Regions from separate parts of the Homo sapiens genome. Here all the other regions are linked to region 4. Evidence: promoter capture Hi-C in human tissues and cell types (Jung and others, 2019). All regions are on one chromosome and are shown on one strand. The core of a region is centred on a gene start or on the middle of the fragment in contact, and the rest is flanking DNA. Distances in the headings are between cores, read along the strand shown.

What was found. Contacts are between HindIII fragments. The study calls those that stand out against the background at their distance.
Region 1: a contact is called between a fragment that was not itself captured here and the fragment with the promoter of ZNF285 in region 4, in 5 of the 25 tissues and cell types used here (dorsolateral prefrontal cortex, heart left ventricle, hippocampus and 2 more).
Region 2: a contact is called between a fragment that was not itself captured here and the fragment with the promoter of ZNF285 in region 4, in 4 of the 25 tissues and cell types used here (bladder, dorsolateral prefrontal cortex, pancreas and 1 more).
Region 3: a fragment that was not itself captured here is called in contact with the fragment with the promoter of ZNF285 in region 4 in 2 of the 25 tissues and cell types used here (dorsolateral prefrontal cortex and spleen).
Region 5: the fragment with the promoter of ZNF45 here is called in contact with the fragment with the promoter of ZNF285 in region 4 in 2 of the 25 tissues and cell types used here (dorsolateral prefrontal cortex and mesendoderm cells).

Annotation. Positions count from the first base shown.
Region 1 is chr19:43,960,170-43,962,869 of GRCh38, reverse strand. It overlaps ZNF221 (zinc finger protein 221), which reads right to left. Exons shown (of 5, transcript NM_001297588.2): 2 at 63-145. The coding sequence starts at 143. Among named protein-coding and RNA genes, the nearest start is that of ZNF221, 10 kb to the right of the region's middle. The HindIII fragment of the contact is 7,430 bases long and covers 1-2,700 here.
Region 2 is chr19:43,891,061-43,893,760 of GRCh38, reverse strand. It overlaps LOC100505715 (a long non-coding RNA gene), which reads left to right. Exons shown (of 3, transcript NR_038334.1): 3 at 621-1,957. Among named protein-coding and RNA genes, the nearest start is that of ZNF404, 8.4 kb to the right of the region's middle. The HindIII fragment of the contact is 7,085 bases long and covers 1-2,700 here.
Region 3 is chr19:44,064,310-44,067,009 of GRCh38, reverse strand. It overlaps ZNF223 (zinc finger protein 223), which reads right to left. Exons shown (of 5, transcript NM_013361.6): 5 at 1-946. Among named protein-coding and RNA genes, the nearest start is that of ZNF284, 6.5 kb to the left of the region's middle. The HindIII fragment of the contact is 6,488 bases long and covers 1-2,700 here.
Region 4 is chr19:44,400,300-44,402,999 of GRCh38, reverse strand. It overlaps ZNF285 (zinc finger protein 285), which reads left to right and starts at 1,392. Exons shown (of 4, transcript NM_152354.6): 1 at 1,392-1,432. RefSeq lists an enhancer at 1,239-1,995. The HindIII fragment of the contact is 9,713 bases long and covers 1-2,700 here.
Region 5 is chr19:43,933,930-43,936,629 of GRCh38, reverse strand. It overlaps ZNF45 (zinc finger protein 45), which reads left to right and starts at 1,348. Exons shown (of 10, transcript NM_003425.4): 1 at 1,348-1,706; 2 at 1,936-2,204. It overlaps ZNF45-AS1 (ZNF45 antisense RNA 1), which reads right to left. Exons shown (of 3, transcript NR_184050.1): 3 at 816-2,700. The HindIII fragment of the contact is 9,817 bases long and covers 1-2,700 here.

The DNA of each region.
Region 1 (2,700 bases), core at 97-2,596, 440 kb after region 4:
AAATGTGACAATATGAGTAGTAAGATGGAATTTTAACAGCAAGAGAGGCAAGCCCTACTCACTTTGAATGTGGTCATTTTTCCTTCTACTTCAGGGAATTTGCAGAGTCCTGAATGAAGCAGTTCAAGTGAAGGTGAAATCATGCCTGGAAAGTGCCAGGAAAGGCAGAAAAACAGACAGGAAATGGTAACTAGGAATGCCGACCACCAACATAGACAAGTATTTTCAATTAGCACATGAATGTTCATAGCAGCATTACTCATAACCCCAAACTGCAAACAAGCAAAATGCCCTCCTACGGGTAAATGAATAGACAAATCATGGCATATCCATACAACAGAATTTTATTTGGAAATTCAAAGGAGTGAAGAACTGGCTCATGCTACAACATGTATGAACCTTGGAAACATTATGCTAAGTTAAAGAAGCCAGTCTAAAAACCCCATGGATTGTAAAATTCAATTTTATAAAATATCCAGAATAAGCAAATGTATATATAGAGAAAGTAGGTTAGTGGTTGCTCCAGATTTGAGGTGAGAATGAGGTTTAACTGTACATAAGCACAAGGAGTCCAATTGGGGGGCGAAAATGATCTAAACTGAATTATGATGACGGTCACACCACTGTTCAAAGTTCCTGAAGATTATTAAATCGTACGACTGAAATGGGTAAATTCTATGACATGTAAAATACACCTCAATAAAGTTGGAAATAATAACAGTTAATCTACATGTTATTTAACTGGATTGTGGGTCCATATTGATAGAATATTTATAGTTGAAGAAACTGATTAATAAATCAGGGAGAAGTGGAAGCTAATCTTTACAGGATAATGCCCACTAATAATGTATCTCCCGTAAGAAACGTTTTTATTTTCAAAATTTAATTAAAAAGTAACCTTTCAGTGGAAAAATCTGAAAGATATCATCTTGGCCAAGTGAACAAAGTTGAGATCTCCAATGAAGGGAAAAACAGACATCATTTGGCCCCTGTTATGACACTTCAACACTTCTGTGGTATCCACACCAACAATGCATAATCTGAACCTAAACATGAAATACATAAATCCCAAATGACTATCTTTCTATAAAATACTTTGCCTATATACTTCAAGGATGTCAAGAATAAAAAGACAAAGCCTGTTGAATCTTTCTAGATTAAAGAAGACTACAGAAATGTGACACCTAAAAGCAGTACATAAAATTGGACTTTGGACTGGGGGATGGGGGAAAACAGTTACAAGAACTTTAAAAAGCACAACAAATTTAAATATGGGAGTTTGGATAGAAAAGATGATGGTGTCTAGCCATATCTAATAGGTAACAGAATTAACTAATATTAATAGTCTTTTAATTGATATCTAGTATTTAATAGTGATATTACTTAATATTATATCTAATACTACCTAGCATCTTATATGAAACTCTATAGCCAGCCCTTCCTAAATGCCTCTTACCAAGACACTCCATGATCACCTTGCTATGTGGGGTTCCTTGATGCAGAAAGCTACAATAAGTTGTTTCTCATTATAAGTTTGTTCCCAGTGGTATTTGGCTGATGGGTGTTAACAAAGCAAAATACAAAATGTAAATAATTGGAAAATTTGGGTAAAGAGCATATGAAGAGGCAGGTGCTGTGGCTTGAGCCTGTAATCCCAGCTACTTGGGAGGCTGAGGCAGGAGGATAGCTTGAGTCTAGGAGTTAAAGGCTGCAGCAAGTTAGGATTGTGCTACTGTACTCCAGCCAGGGCTCTTAAAGCTCCAACATAATCCTTGACTCCATGTCCCACATCCTGGTATAAGAGATAGACTCCCAAGGCCTTGGGCAGCCAAGTGATATGACTGAGCAGTGGTCTCAGGACCACTTCTCAGAGGGCAGTGGTCCCCTTACCACAGATCCATTAGGTAGTGCCCTAGTGGGGACTCTGTGGGGAGCCCTCACATTTCTCCTTGGCACTGCCCTGGTAGAGGTTCTCTGTTGGGGCTCCCCCACTGTGGCAGGCTTCTGACTGGGATCCCAGGCTTTCTCATACATCCTTTGAAATCTAGGTAGAAGCTGCCAAGCCTCCTTCATGCTTGCATTCTGAGCATCTGCAGCCTTAACACAATGTGGAAACTACCACAACTATCAAGGCTTGAACCCTCTGGAGCTGCAACCCAGCCTGCGCCTGGGGCACTCTAAGCTGAGGCTGGAGCCAGAGTGGCCGGATTCAGGGCACAATGTCTTGAGGCTGCTCAGGGCAGGGGGTCCCTGGGCCTGGCCCTTGGAACCATTCTTTTCTCCTAGGCCCCTAGGCCTGTGATGGGAGGGACTTTCCTGAAGACTTCTGAAATGTCTTCCAGGTCTTTTTCCCATTGTCTCAGATATTACCACTTGGCTTTCTGTTAGTCATGCAAATCTCTTTTGCGAGTGGTTGCTCCACAGCCGACATGTATTCCTCTCCTAAAAATGCTTTTTCTTTCTCTACTAAATGGCCAGGCTGCAAATTTTCCAAACTTTTATACTCTGCTTACCTTTTAAATATAAATTCCAACTTTAAGTCATTTTTTTGCTCCCATATATAATTGTAGGCTGTTTGAAGCAGTGAGGCAGCCAGGCCACTTCTTGAATGCTTTGCTGCTCAGAAATTTCTTTTGCCAGGTACCCTAAGTTATCACTCTTAAGTTCAAGCTTCCAGAAATCCCTAGGGCATGAACACAA
Region 2 (2,700 bases), core at 99-2,598, 510 kb after region 4:
TTGAGACCACGGTGAAACCCCGTCTCTACTAAAAATACAAAAATAATTAGCCGGGCACGGTGGCAGGCGCCTGTAGTCCCAGCTACTCGGGAGGCTGAGGCAGGAGAATGGCGTGAACCCGGGAGGCGGAGCTTGCAGTGAGCTGAGATCGCGCCACTGCACTCCAGCCTGGGTGACAGAGCAAGACTCCGTCTCAAAAAAAAAAAAGAAAAGAAAAGAAAATAGATAAGTGTTGGTGAGGATGTAGAGGAAAGGGAACACTTGTACACTGTTGATGGCAATATCAATTGGTATAGCCATTATGTAAAACAGTATGAAGGTTCCTTAAAATAATAAAAATAAACCTATCATATGAAAAAAAAAAGTGACGAGATGTCTCTACTGTGATTATGTTATACCATATAAGACTCATAGCAGATTGGACTTCTTTTGTGGGCTTGATGAAGTAAGTGGCAATGTTGGAGAAGCCCATCTTGCAAAGGAACTGCAGGTGGCCTGCAGAACCTGAGGGCAACCTCCAGCCAACAGTCAGCAAAAAGGTGAGGCCCTCAGTCGTATGGCCACAGGGAAATGAATTCTCCCTACAATCTGAATGAACCTGGAAATGAATTCTCCCCCAGTTGAACTCCAGAGGAGAACACAGCCCAGGTAACCCCTCGTTTGCAGCCTGTGAGACCAGCCTGAGGACAGCACCCAGCTAAACTCCAGGTCCATGGAAACTGTGAGATTTTATATATTTATGTTGTTTTAAGCTAAATTCGTGGTAATTGGTTATGGTAGCAACTGAAAATTAATGCAGTAAGAAAGTCTAAGGAGATCGGAAGAGACTAAAGAGAAATAACAGCTAAATGCAACGTAGATTAATGTGTGGGATCCTGGAAAAGAAAAAGGACATTAATGGGAAAACATATTTGAATAAGATGTGCAAATTTTTCGTATTGTACCAATGTTAATTTCCTGGTTTTGATAATTATCCTTTGGTTATGTAAGATAAACGCTAGAATGAAGGGTATATGAGAACCCTCTGTACTACTCTTGCAACTTTTCTCTAAGTCTAAAATAAGTGGAAATTAAAAGTTAAAACAAAAAAAAAGGAAAATTTTATCTATCCCAAGACCACAAAGTTATTTTTCTGTTTCTTCCTCCAGAATCTTTATTGTTTGTTTTCACACTTAGACCTATGATCCATCTTGAATTTATATCTGTGTATGTAGTGGGATGAAGTTCAAAATCATTTTTTTCATACAGATATCCAAGTGCACTGGCACCGTTTGTTAAAAACACTGGCCTTCTCTTAAGCTGCAGTCAGACTTTTACTGTAAAGCATGGGCCCATATATGTGCAGGAGTCTTTCTACTTTTCCGTTGGTCCTCTTTGTCAATCTTTGTGCCAGCACCTCCATTTTAATTCCTGTAGCTTTATATTATATCTTGATAATCTGGTAATATAAGTTGAAGAACAACTTTGTTCTTCAAAATCACTTTGTCTATTCCAGGTTCTTTGCATTGCTCTATAATTTTAGAATGAGTTAATTAATTTTCTCAAAACAAACAAAACGCCCTGCTGACATTTTGTTGGCAGTACATTGAATCAGTAGATAAATTTAGAGAGAATTATCTCAAAATTGAGTCTTACAGTTCATGAACATGGAATACATTTCCATTTATTGAATTCATCTTTAATTTCTTTCCTTAAGGTTTTGTTGTTTCCTGTCTAAAGGTCTTGCACATCTGTTAAATTTATTCCTGTTTTACATTTTTTATGTTTTTACAAACTGTTAAGGTTTTAAAAATTTTATTTTTCAGTAGCTTTGCTTTAATATAATTGTTTTATACTTTTACCCTTTATTCAGCAATAAATTATTTAATTTAAAGCTTGTGGAATTAAAAAATATTTTTATGTACATAATCATGTAATCTACACTATCTGCAAATAAAGATCATTTTACTTCCTTCCATTTACACCTTTTATTTTTTCCTTATAATATTGGATAGGTCTTCTACTACAAAATTGAAAAGACATGTAAGAGTAGACAACCTTACCTTGTTCCTGAAATCAGAAAGACAGTGGTCCATATTATGTATAATGATCCCTTTATGTACAATGGTAGTTGTAGTTTTTATTCTTTAGGTCCCCTTTATCAGATGAAAGAAGTTCCCCTCTAGTCCTGGTTTGCTGAGAATTTTTATCATGATTAATGTTGTATATTGTTAAATGGATTATTTCTAATGAAATAATTGAATGGTTTTCTCCTTTATTAGTTAACATTGAAAGATTACATTGATTTTTTAAAAATTAAACTTATACTTGTTTGAGGTTATGGTAAAAAATTAAATTAAATGGCCTTTGAATTTCTAAAATAAAGCTCTCTTGGTCAATATGTTACTGGTTTCTCTTTGCTAATATTTGGTTTAATATGCTTGCGTCTGTGTTCATGAAACAGATATATTGTAATTTTCCTTTTATGTAATATCCTCATCTGGTTTTGATATCACAGTTATTCTGGCCTTATGACATAGTTTGTTTTTTTCTATTTTCTAGAACAAGTTGAGTTTGATTGGCATTTTTAATTTCTTAAATGTTTGGGAGAATTTGCTACTGAATCCTCTTGGCCTGACATTATTTTTGTGAGAAGATCCTTAATACAGATTTAATTTCTTTAATAAATAAAACAATATTTAGATTTTCAATTTCTTATAT
Region 3 (2,700 bases), core at 109-2,608, 340 kb after region 4:
TGGGCTCTATGGTGCAAGTCAAGACCTGACTTAGTAATGTAGCTCTTCCCACACTTGTCACATTTGTATGGCTTTTCTCCAGTGTGGACTCGCTGATGGATCAAAAGATAGGAGGACCGTCTGAAGCTCTTCCCACATTCTTTACAATTATATGGTTTCTCTCCTGTGTGGATCGTCTGATGCTTACACAAATCCAGCCTACGAATGAAGCCTTTTCCATATTCCCCAGTGCTGTTTGGTTTCTTTCCTGTGTGGACCACACAATGCCTATTAAGACTTGACCTAAGACGGAAGCTCACACTACATATCTCACATTTGAATGGCTTCTCCCCTGTGTGAATTCTCTGATGTTTCTGAAGCTGGAAATCATGAATGAAGGCCCTCCCACATGCCTCACAATTATAATGTTTCTCTCCCATGTGTAATTTGCAATGAACTGTAAGTGCTGATCTACATCTGAAGCCTCTCCCACATTGTTCACATTTGAAAGGTTTCTCTCCAGTATGGACTCTCTGATGAGTTTGCAGATGTAAACTCTGACTGAATTCCTTACCACACACGTCACACTTAAAGAGTTTCTCTCCCAGGTGGACTCTCTGATGAATATGAAGCGCTGAGATGTAACAGAAGCTTTTTCCACACTCATCACAGGAATGAGACTTCTCTGCTGAGCGTATTTGCTGAGGAAGATCAAAGATGGACATATCACTGAAGGATTGTTTACACTTCCCACAATTGGAAGGTTTCTGTCCTGTGTGCATTATAGATAGTCCTTCCTCAACCTGGGAGTGGGCATCACCCTGTTCAAAGAACTGAGAGCTCTTTATGGTAGAGTCTTGAGGCCTGGTTAAATCACTTGCAATTTCTTCCCAGATCTGCTGGCAGGACCACCCTTCATGTGGTCCTGCTTCTGGAAAAGTCTTCATCTCAGGTTGGATCTTGCCTCCTATCAGAATACAAAATTAAGAGATCAGGACAAGCTATGCCCTGTTCAGTGTTTTTAAGAGTTCACACTTAGGACATGGTATGAAACTTCAACGAATGTTCAGTTTGTGTTTTCCAAGTGCACCCTGGTTTCTGGTTTGCATGAGAGTAATCTAAAACCATACCATGTCACTGGGGACGGTGGCTCACACCCATAATCCCAGCACTTTGGGAGACCAAGGCACTTTGGGAAGCTGAGGCAGGCAGATCACTTGAGGTCAGGAATTCGGGACCAGCCTGACCAACATAGTGAAACCCCGTCTCTATTAAAAATACAAAAATCAGCTAGGTGTGGTGGCACACACCTATAATCCCAGATACTTGGGAGGCTGAGGCAGGAGAATTGCTTGAACCCAGGAGGCGCAGGTTGCAGCAAGCCGAGATCGTGCCACTGCACTCCAGCCTGGGCGACACAGTGAGACTCTGCCTCAAAAAAAAAAAAAAAAAAGAAAAGAAAGAAAAAAACATACCACATTTCAAATAAAAAATCATTGATAGAAATAAAAGGTTTAATAAAAAATTAATATGACACATACATTTAACCTGTTACTGTTTTTAAAATTTCCAACTCAGTCTGAAATTTTACATGATAAATTACTAAACTATTATGTACGTAATGAAATATGAATCAAAAGGAACTCTAAGGGAAAGCAGTAACATAATAAATACTTCGTATATTTGCCTGTATATTATATATCCTTATAAAGAAGTTAACCTTCCTTTCAGTTTAAGATGGCTTAAAAAACATTTTTAAAAATAAGAAAAGGAGTTAACCTAACTAAAAAGAGGTCAGGACTTTGTCCTCAGTATCTGAGAGGTAATCTGTAGAATCTTGAAGGGGCATGCCTGAGGAGAGTCTCTCTGTTTGCTTGGGGGCAAATCTTGGGTAACTCTTGACAGTGAAATAATATAATTTAGGGTTGTGACTAGCCACAGCTTTGGGGGATGGGAAATGGCAGGTGGCATTCCCCATGTCAGAAAAAATAACGATGTGATTTAATGTAGGTCTTTAGGTCACAGGGAACCAGTGGACCAAAAGACTAAATAACCACACAGGAATCAACCAACCAATTATGGCTATGTAATGGAGCCCCAATAATTACTTGGATCCCAGCACTCAGTTGAGTTTCCCTGATTGGTGGTTCCTTGTGTCTAAGTCACATGCTAATTTTGGGTATGTAACATGCCCGACTCTACTGTGAGAATACAATAGGAGATCCACATTTGGTACTTCACTGGACTCTGTCTTATTTGGTTTTTCCCCCTTGGTTAACTATAATATGCATCTTTTGCTTGTAAAAATCAGTAACTGTGAGAATAAATACATCCAGTGAGTTCTGAGGGTCTTTCTAGGAAATTATTGAATGTGAAGGTAGTTTTGAAAAACTGCCGAATTTGCACTTGGAGTGAAGTGAGAGCAGTTCTCTGTAAAATGTCCCATTAAACTTTTTAGTTTAACCCTTCATGATACTAAACATCAAACACCTTAGAATGTTTATATCTACAAATCGAAAGTATTCCTATACAAGAATTTTGCATGACACATATAAAATACTTAATCTTATTTTTCTGTTTTGATATGGATGATAAGTTGGTTATCTGAAAGAGTACAGAGACAGACAACTGCAGTTCTGAGGGGAATCTGAAAGGCTGTCCTTCCAGAGGTCCACAAAGGAGGATGCTCTTCATCAGACAATCAATGATGTGAAGAATCAC
Region 4 (2,700 bases), core at 143-2,642:
CACCTCGGCCTCCCAAAGTACTGAGATTACAGGCTTGAGCCACCACGCCCAGACTGGGAACCTTTTTGACATGCACTTTTCAATCGTTGACAGATGCATAATGAAAAAATCTAAGTAAGCACAAATAAGCATGTAGGAAATTTAAATAGCACAGTTAGCAAGTCTGGGGAAAATATAAATGTATGCATATCCATCTGATAGAGAAGACACATTGTTTTCCAACAGACACAGATGTCACAAAAATTAACCTTGTATTAGGTCAAAAATAAAAATGTTCCTGAACTCGTTTTTTAAAATTCAAGTATGTCAAATTAAATCAAGTAATCCTTCAACTTAGAGCAATATATAAGAACATCAAACATGTAAACATCAAAAGACAGAGATAAGCCAAAACAATTGCACTGTCCCTTTATGTGCCCTAAGCTGCGATGTCAAGCTATAGTTGGATATTATTCAACCATTTCCTGCCCATTGCGTAGAGGTGGGGGTCTTCACTTCTCTATCTAGTCTAGGACTGGAACCGCCTCACCACCCCTACAGCTTGAGGGTGCGTGGAAAAGGGAATGCCAGCCAGATATTCCAAACAGAGACTCTGCCAGCAGGACCAGGTGACCTTTCCTAGGAGACAGATTGTTCTCACACGTTATCAGGGCTTTCCTCCAGGCTAAAACTGTGGGCCTCTAATGGAATTCCTATTCAATTTTCTTACCCCATTTAGGGTACCCAAATTTTTCTTTAATAGAAATCTTAAATCTTAAATGCAATAACATGAAGTAAAATAAAGCCTAAGTCTCAACAAGGGCAAATTTTCAAAAAGAATCTGAAAACTTCCCGCGTTTTCTTGTTATGTTGTAATGTGTCTCTTTTAGGACACTCTCAGTACTCCTGCAATTCCCCTGTTAAGGATTCAGACAATAGTTGTTAATTCCTTCTGCTTCTTCTGAGACTAGGAAATAAATTACAGGGCTATGTTATATCGCAAGTGTAGATTATCCAGAGTTTTCATCAACAGAAATAAAACATGGTGGGGGGCGGGGAGGGAATTATTTAAGTGAGTGTTAATTGAAAAGTTTCGTGGTTTTAACGTTAAAAGACATGCCTATAAAATAAGAACTTATAAAAGTCTTCACTAAAACGGTAAAGTGCCCATTTCCAAGTAGTAAAATATTGAAACTTCTTTTCATCGTTGATAGTGATTTATTTAACATTTCATTATTTTATCGTTATTATGATTGTCGTTATTTTAGACGAATGCACGGAAGTCAAAGGACTTCCAAATGCACGGAAGTCAAAGGCCACCTTCACCAGGGTAGCCTTGCGAATGGCCACTGCTGCGCGCGGGGCTTTCTGGGGATTGTAGGCCATAGGCCTCCTTGCGCATGCGCCATGGTACTGGACGCACGCTGCGGGCGACATTGTTTGGGACGCTGGGGTGAGTCCCGTCTGTACCGCGCCCCTCTTGGAGGCGTAGCCAGGAGTAGGAGTGTAGGATGTGCAGCTGTGACCCGTCCCTGTGGACTGAAGTAGGAGGAGTGGAAGAGGGGACTGGTAACCAATGATAAGGCCTCGTAGGTGGGGTAGACTAGGGAAGTTCAGCGGCCCGACCTACCCGGGATAGGATGGGAAGAGCGTGGGCTCGAGCGTGGGCTCGGTTTGGGGAGCAGCCCTGGGTTTGACAAAACAGTGCATCTTCACGTTTCGTGACAGCGACTTGCGCTGTGCCTCCTCGGGTCGAAGCTTAGGGTCAGTCTTGGGATGTGCATCTCTGGATGAGGGCAGAGGGGCGCTGGCTCAGGGTTTTGGAGTAATGGCTGGACTGTGCGTCCCTGAATGGGATGAGGGATTTGCTTAAGCAGCTAGTCTCTGGATATAGAGGATGGCTTCGGCTGTTCTCGCTCAGTTTGGTGGGGGCGATTCTGGCTCAGCACCCCTAGGTTCTTGGATGGGGAGTTGTCTTGGGTCTGAACTCTGGATTTTGGCAGCTCTGACTCCATTGGGGCATTTATGACTTCAAGGCAGAGGTTCTGGCTTTTGGCAATAAAGAAACAACTCAGACTGTAATACTGTAATAACTCCAGAGTTTAATGTCACCGAATACATTTTGAAAAGAACTGTCCCAGGCCTGGCGCGGTGCCTCACGCCTGTAATCCCAGCACTTTGGGAGGCCAAAGTGGGCGGATCACGAGGTCAGGAGATCGAGACCATCCTGGCTAACACGGTGAAACCCCGTCTCTACTACAAAAAACAATTACAAAAAATTAGCCGGGCACGGTGGCAGGCGCCTGTAGTCCCAGCTACTCGGGAGGCTGAGGCAGGAGAATGGCGTGAACCCGGGAGGCGGAGCTTGCAGTGAGCTGAGATCACGCCACTGCACTCCAGCCTGGGCGACAGAGCCAGACTCTGTCTCAAAGAAAAAAGAAAAGAAAAGAACTGCCCCAAATTATTAACTCCATTCTCACCTCACATGCTGTGAGCCAGGGAGTAGGGACTTTGAGTATTATAAAGCACATTAGCAAATATAAGTTGTTAAATTACACTCAACAAATTTGAAGTTTGAACACTCTCTGTATATTTGATAAAGTTAGAGATTTAGTGTTAATTATTTTAGGTGTAATAGCAGCATTTATTACATTTCTGATCGTGTTTCTGGGCAATTGCAGTTCCAGATTCAGCTGCACTTTTCCTCTAGGTCTTCATTCC
Region 5 (2,700 bases), core at 99-2,598, 470 kb after region 4:
AATCAACAGTGTTAAAAGCTCAGTGACTGTTCCTTGCAGACCAAGACTAGCCCACAGGCAGTGTGCCCAGAGTAGCAGCATATGGGCTGTTGGCTGGGTATATTTATACCAACTTTTCATTACATGCAAATTAAGGGGTGAGTTACTCGGAAATCTCTAGAAAAGGGGTTGGTAACTTCCAGGTGTTGCCATGGCATTTATAAACCGTCACGGCGCTGGTGGGAGTGTCTTATACTGATAGGTAGCAAAGGGAACTTACAGGTTGCTTTCCATCACTTGCTGGTTTCAGCAGGTTTCTTATCTGATCTTGGAATCACGCCCTGCTGGTCTCCTGCCTCAGCCTAAATTGAACATTGTTCAGATGTTTACAGCTACTCCTATGTAGTCAACTTCCATTTTTTCTTCTTTACCCTTTCATAATAAACTTGGAAAAATATTTAGTTTCTACCTAGGAGAAAAGTGAATAGTATAGCTTTCTGTATTTTTTGCACTTCATGTCTTAATCCCTCACTTCACCTCCCTCTCCTTACTGAATATTCATAGACACTTTGGCAAATCATAAGACACCTTTACAGATTCCTGATTCTGAGAGCAAGAAGTGATGTGATTCCTTAATCTGAACTGAATGTTTTCAAGATTTTATATAGGATAGAGCCTATTCAATACTATAATACTTTCTTCAGTATCCTGCGAATGAAAGAAAACTAAGCGCAAGAAAAGTGGAGAATTTTGCTGCTTTTGTTTCATGTCCTGCTGGATGATTGCATCTCCTTTTTTGAGCATTTTTAATCACAGATGAATCCATACCCATATTATAAAAGGCTTGTTGCTCTGGGCGGCTCTGGCCACCTCTTTTATTACCTCTGTTTTTAGCTCACACATAGCATTCCTTTGTATTTTCCTTTTTTTTTTTCATATTCGCAACTTCTGTCACGTATAAAAGGGAACAATGGCAAAAGGAAAAAGCAGGCTGAGCTCTACAAGCAATGACTTAGACTCCCCCCGCTAATTCAAAAGGAAAATTGCAGGCTGGCGGGAAGCTCAGCCCTACAGAGGATTCTGGGACGTGTGGTCCAGACTTTTGGGGGCACTTCAGCTCTGGGAAAGCGCGGCTTTGTTATTTGCTCCCCTGGGGAAATAGGAACCTATACCCCAGTGCTCAGTGGGTTCGGTGGTACTTCGACTATTTGAGGACGAGAACACGAAGCCCGCTCCCCTTGGGGATTCTGAGAAATAAGATTCGGCCGTGGGAGTCGAAGCCCGCACTTCCGCCCAGGGGGCGGGGCAGCGGCTTCCGTTCCTCCCGGGGATGCTGGGAAATGTAGTTCCAGAGCTCCCTGCTCTCCCGGGCACTTCCGCGGCAAGAGGTTGAGAGCGCGGCCTTCATTCCTCTCGTGGAAGTGAGTGAGTCCTGGGACCCCGCGACCTGTTTTAACTTTTATGGTTTGGTCGTAGGATCAGCAGGGCTCGCACTTCGGTCAGCAGGAAAAGACGCTGCGGCGAGCAGCGGAGGGCGGAGTTGAATGGCTGGGCAGCTGATTGCCTTACTGTATCCGGAGCTGCTGCGTTCGGGGCGGTTCGGGAGTCCCCTGGTTGGAAGTGGACCTGAATGGGGAGGCGTCTGAGGATCTCCTGGGCTCTCAGCGGCCCGACCCGCCTTCCCCCACCTCCCACAGCTCTGTAGCTTCCTAGCGGTGTAACGTTGGGTGAGAACTTAATCTTTCGGTGCTTAGTTTCTGGTCTTAGTTTCCTCTTCTGCAAAAGGAAATATTAACCTTATATATTTGTTTTGACAATTAGTAATATAGTACAAGTAAAATGTGTATGGAATAGTACAGGAATGTGGCAACATGTCGGCCGTTAATATTAAAACTATCATAATAAAAAATATTCATTTTTCAGCAAGCGCCTGGCTCTTCTTTCTGATTCCTGCAGGAAAGGAGGCTGTTCTTGGACTATGCCTGACCCGTTTTTTAAGAAAGAGTGCATCACTCAACAGGTGGCGTCTGGAGTTATCCTCTGTGGATTTTCCAGGATCTCAGACAAGATCGTGCAATCTCCCAGCCTCCTTTCCTTCCCCTGCCCTGACTTCTGAAAGAATGCTGCGGGAGAGGAGGAAGGAGAGCATCCTGGCTTCTGGCAGCAGAGCCCCACTGTGACAGGACCTAGCATTCACCTTCCTCTTCTGTTCCGAGTGCGAGAAGGTATTTCATTCCTTGCAAATGTTTCTGCTACAGAAGTGTTCCGTTATTGTATAATTGGAGAAAATGTGACATGAATATTAGTCACACTAGTTAAACATTGGGTGCTGAGTATCACTCTGAGGGCTTTATAAAAACTAACACACTGAACCTTCACAAAGGCCTTGTGTTGTGGGTTCTGTTCACCTTACAAAGGTGATGTGGGTATTGTGATATGGGTACTGTTATTACACCAATTATACAGATGAGGAAATGGAGAGAGCCTAATTTACTTTCCTATATCACAGTGCTAGTAAGAACAGTGGGATTTGTGTCCTAGACTTGGGTTCCTTACATCTGAATACCCTTGGTCTCACAGTTTGAAATCCCAATTTAGAATTAGGAAATAAAATAGATAAATGATCCATATAAATAATCATAGGAAACTGGCTGCAGAGGAGCCATTTGAGATCAAGTTGGGGAGGGAGGTTGGAATTTTACTGTAGAAGATTTTGAAAGC